2 separate regions of the Homo sapiens genome follow, and region 1 is linked to region 2. The links are contacts of gene promoters, found by promoter capture Hi-C in blood cells and fetal thymus (Javierre and others, 2016). All regions are on one chromosome and are shown on one strand. Each heading gives the region's core, a stretch centred on a gene start or on the middle of the fragment in contact. The rest is flanking DNA. Distances are from core to core; before and after follow the strand shown.

Region 1 (2,700 bases), core at 197-2,696, 490 kb before region 2:
TTTAAAACTCTTCCAGTTCTGTACTTAGGGATGGAACTAGCCTGAGTTAAGGTCATGTGGCATTCAGGAAAGAACCCTATCCTTCTAGTGCCAGAAGTCAAAGTTGTGATTCTTATGAAACTAGTCACCTTTTCCCCTCTGGGCCTGTTTCCTCATCCATGAAAGAAAGCCATAAACTATACTCAGCCATTGTTCATTTGAAGTAGGAACTACATTCCCTTGGAGAGCTTGTTTAAAACACATTCCCAAGCCCCACACCCAAAAATTATGAATCAGTAGATTTGAGACAGAGCCAGGGAGTCCACAGTTAACCAACATTCTACACTATTACAATGAGAACCCATGGTCTACCTCATTGATAAGACTCCCTCCTCCTCTATAATCTGACAGATCTATCAATTCTCAAGATTCATACACTATTTAAGTCATCATAGTGACTGTGAGTCAACAACAACAACAAAATGGCTCAAGGCTGGCAGATATTTAGCGTAAGATATTAACCATCTGTCACACACACTAACTAAATCAACAGAGGGGCCAACTGAGATGTTTCCAATTATCTGCTAGAAAAAGTATTTTCAACTGGGTAGAATAAATCATTATTAGCCTTTCATAATATCAAAAGTAGGTCAATTAAAATGGTGTTTAGAGGCATATAGCAGACTGTGGCCACTCTCCAGATGTGTAAGCTTGCTTTAATCATCTGCTGTGTGTTAATTATTGTTAACTTTCATTACCACTAGAGAATACAACTAATGTTTTAAAATTCTTAAAGCATTACAGAGTCCTAATTCACTCTCTAAATGCAAATATAATATCTATATTGTTTTCAAAAACCTATTTCCTAAGCTAGTTTCCTTAGACGGATATTATCGAAAATTTTCTTGCAAAAGCATTAACATACATTTAACCCTACTTAAATGCTTCAAGAGCAGATGTACTACAAATGTACACCCACAGTGATCCCATATTAGTATAAAACTGTTTTATTTCAATTAAAATGTCTAAGTATCCACCCCCAACATATACCTAAACTGTAATTTTCTCTGAGAATTTCCAATATGTTCTTGATTTTGTTTCCTTTATCAACCTATCAGAGCAAAAACTGCCTTGCAACTGTTGGAAGAAATCAGTCATTAGCAGCAAGATTACAGCAAATTTTCCAATTTAGAAAAACTGTATTTTTATCTCTCTCTTATACCAGAAGAAGAATGGTATAATTTTCCTATCTTTAAATAAGCAGTACAGTTAGTTTAAAATAGTCAAATTTTCCTAGGACTCTAAGTTTCAGGATTTTATGTTAGCTTTCTGTTCTCTACACCTTCTTTCCTACTCACAAGTTCTCTTCACCCTTCATCATGCATGCACATGAACATGCACATACACACACACACATGCACACACAAACACACAGGTGCACATGCACACACAGGGACAGCAGCCCCCAGTCCAGTCTCTCCACTCCCTGACAGGCTTCTAAGGAACAGTTAACCTTCAGGCAGTAGTTAACTAAGGAGTGGCTTCACATGGTTATTTTGATTTGCTCTCCAACTGACATTCTTCCACCTTCTCAACAGGTCTGCCTTCTTTTCTCCCCCTCTCTATTTTTAAAATGGAGTGATGAAGTAGCAAAAAGTACAATATTTTAGCCATTTGAGCACGGGCGATTCTTAAATTATCCCACCAACTGGAAGTGCTCTCTGATACTACTATCTTTCAAAATTGAAGCCATTATGGTCAATCGTGCAAATCCGTATTTAGCTTTTCGTAAATAGTGGATTTTTGACCCAATGAACTGGAACAGTTTCTGGACAGTCTCTAGGATCTCTGAAAAGATACTCAGTACCCAGGCATGCCACAATTCTTATCAACATAGAGACTATTTACTTTCAAAACTCATACTGTTCTTATTCGAAATTCTTACTCTCTATTTGGGATGTAAGCATGTATAAGAGAATATACTCAGCCCCCTCTTTACCTCTCATAAAATAAAATCAAATCTACTGCAGGGCAATATTTTTCTTTCATCAAAATGACACATTATTTTTGTGAAACACCAAAATCAGAACCAATATTAATGAAGAACTTTCCCCAAGTAACGTTTCTTCTGATTCTTCACCACCTTCTCCCTCAGCTATCTTTTCGAATATTTCATTTTCGAAGTGTCTTTACAAAGACAGTAACAAATGACCTTCCTTTCCAGCAAGCTTAAAAATGATGGGTAAAGTCTGCCTTCTTCCAATCCAATACCAGCATTCCTCTAGCTTTATATATTTAATATTAAATTTGAGTGCTTAACTTCGAAACTTCTCATTTCCATACTTTTAACTCCCATCATTTTCTGCAACCTGAATCGAAGTGACTGAGTGGGTGTTTCCACACATTTCCTAATGTCATCTAGCCTACCCATTTTCCCAAAGCACACCAATTTCATCATAGCAGGTGTTCCTGGACACAATCTAAGTTGAACTCAGAAAGGGTCCCTCCAAACAATTACATCCACATCAGAGAATTAACTAACTGAGGACTCGCTTAGAATTAAGAATTAACTAGCTTAGAAATCGCCCCGGTTCTGTGGGTTTTGTTTAGTGGGAGAGACACAAGAGAAAAGTTGGTGCAAATATAATAAGTTTGCTAAACTACAATTTAAACAAAGTTAAATAGATTTATTTTTTCCGCAGGACTTCTCAGAGCCTTAAT
Region 2 (2,700 bases), core at 162-2,661:
CATCATAGGGTATACAACTTGGGACAATTTTAGTGAAGTAGTAATTGCTTGATGCAACAGGATGTGTACCCCATTAACCACAATTCTCTTTCTACCACCTTCAGAAAGTAATCTCCTTTTCTTATAAGGTAAATATTTACAAATCCTACTCATCAACCATCAGCCAATAAAGCAGCCTATTTTGAAAACCTAACTGGCAACAGCAATCTCACAAACAGAAGCAGTACAGCTGAAGTTAAGAGCTTTGGTGTCAATCAGGCCAGGTTTCCCAGTTCCAGTTCTATTATTTCTAACTAGTTATGAGACATCAGAAGGTTTCTTAACCATTCCGAGCTTCAGTTTATCTGAAGAATGGCAATACTGAGGCCTACTTCTTATATTTATGAAAGTGGAATATGCTATTACAAGTAAAGCACTTAGACAAGTTCCTGAAAACAACAGCCACTCAATAAATGTTAGCAATTTGCTATTATCTACAATGAAAAAACCAGGTCTTTAGTTTTGAAGCTAAAAAAAAAAATGTGTAAGGTTTAGGTTCTTTTAAAAAAATATTTTATTTTTGTAGGGACAGGGTCTCGCTATGTTGCCCAGGCTGGTCTTGAACTCCTGACCTTATGTGATCCTCCTGCCTCTTCCTCCCAAACTGCTGCGATTACAGGCGTGAGCCACCACACCCGGCAAGTTTTAGGGTCTTATAAAGCATTAAGTTAGGTCACAGTTAAGTGATCAAAATGGTGAGGAACAGGAATGAGGCAATAATGTGTATTAAGCACCCCGTATCTTACCCTCCTATCCTACTTAATGAGGCTTCATTTGTAACATCCTAAAAGTTAAGCAGCATTGGCGTAACTACTGACAATTCAATTCTGGAAAGGTTTAAAGACAAAGAAAGACTGCTAAAACAAAAAGAAAAGGAGGTTATGTAGACTTGAACTAAGTTTAAGTGGTGAGTAACCCAGGTGAACAGTAAATGGACCAACCATCACAGACGCGGGGCTATGGGTCCAGACTCACGGTGGCTCCTCCCAGTGAGGAAGCCGAAGCCATTGGGCCTCACCAGTGAGTCCCAGCGCAACACCCCAAACCCGAATCTGGGGCGCCACTGAGGGGTGAGCGTTAGCGCCTCGAGTGCCGGCCCTGGGAGTCCAAACTTCCCGCCGGTGCCCCCAGCTGGGCCCGAGCACCCAAGCTACCTCCACACGGAGGCCTGAGTCACCGTTCGCGCGACACAGAAACCGGGGCCCAGCGGTTACCTTCGGCAGGGAACTCTTCAAACTCGTCGTCTTCCTCTAACAGACCTAAGTCTACCGGCTGCTTTTTCTCTGACATCTCGACTGTCCGCGCCCAACACCTCCCAGATAAGCAGAAAAGTTGGAACCCTCACTCTTCCTCAAGGAAACGCCACCGTCACTACCGCCTCCGACGCTGACGCTACCATAGAGACTTGGGGAAAGAATACGGGAGCAGCGCGAGGAATGCTGGGATACTGGAGGTCGGCCCAGCGCTTCCTGCGGGGTTAGCGCTTTTTCCGAGTTGTAGAGGTGATTTTTTTTTTTTTTTTTTTTTGGTCTCTACCTTGTTATTCGGACTCTCTGTATTGCCAAAGTTGAGATCCGTGTAGTTTTCCTGACTATAAGAGACTCATAATGTGTAAAACAAACAAACAAAAAAACCCTTAGTTTGCAACCGAGGAAGGAACTCTAGAGAGACTACAGTGTGACTGCAAACATTCATCAGCCCTTCACATACGTTATTACCTCCAGTCCTTAAGCCAGTTCCCTAAAGGTGGTATTAAATGTCTCCACATCACAGAAAATTCAGGTTCGGTAGGAAGCAGCCGAAGTCACTCAGGTAGTTCTAGACAACCGAAATGCAGATTTTTTTGCCTGGCTCCAATCTCCAGACTTTTCCATTAGGCAGTGTTTATAAGGTCTTAGAATTACTTTGTGGTAAAATAGCTTTTTAAATAGAATTTGTGTGGTGTGTATGTGTGTGTAGTAACTCTGGTTTACAGGTTATTATACAGTAATGCTATTTATGGATTTGTGTAACATTTTATGGTGTTCAAAATATATCATTTAGAATTGTTTGAATAGCATTTGAATATCATTTTGAATACAGTAGTGAACTTCATGGAACTCTATATATAATATATGGATGTATATGGATGAATATTATGGAATATACGTACACAAATTGAGTATTATTGTAAATGTTGATACATGTTCCAGATTATATCTATAAATGCCATTCCTTTATTCAACAATGTAAGGTCATACCGCTTACCAGGAGCTGTGCATCAAACATGTATAGACAAGGTCCCTTTCTTCAAGGAGCTTATATGCTGCTCAGAGACATGTAAACAGATAAATCACAATGAAACACAGTAATCCACTTGAATCTGCATCTTAATATTAGTGAGAAATGAACAGAGTGTTTGGGAATACAGAAAATTGAATAACTAAATGTAGAACAAACTTGGCCAAGAACTACAATTAGATGAAATTTTTAAAAAATGTATCTCTTATACTATTTGATTTATATAGATTACTGAAAATAATGGTATCTCACTACCAAAAAAATTATGTCAGGTAATGCATATCTTATTTAGTGTGATTTAGTCATTATACAATGTATTTGTATTTTAAAACATGTGCTCCCAAATATAGGCAATTTTTATTTGTCAATTAAAATAATTTT

Evidence for each region. Contacts are between HindIII fragments. The CHiCAGO score rates a contact against its expected background, and 5 or more counts as called.
Region 1: a contact is called between a fragment that was not itself captured here and the fragment with the promoter of SEM1 in region 2, in 2 of 17 cell types (M2 macrophages and M1 macrophages). The highest score is 6.8, in M2 macrophages.

What each region holds. Positions count from the first base shown.
Region 1 is chr7:96,219,393-96,222,092 of GRCh38, forward strand. The region is part of intron 4 of SLC25A13 (solute carrier family 25 member 13); the gene reads right to left. It overlaps MIR591 (microRNA 591), which reads right to left and starts at 364; the gene lies at 270-364. The HindIII fragment of the contact is 1,518 bases long and covers 688-2,205 here.
Region 2 is chr7:96,708,435-96,711,134 of GRCh38, forward strand. SEM1 (SEM1 26S proteasome subunit) reads right to left here and starts at 1,412. Exons shown (of 3, transcript NM_006304.2): 1 at 1,254-1,412. The coding sequence starts at 1,329. RefSeq lists enhancers at 1,227-1,426, 1,597-1,686. The HindIII fragment of the contact is 9,533 bases long and covers 1-2,700 here.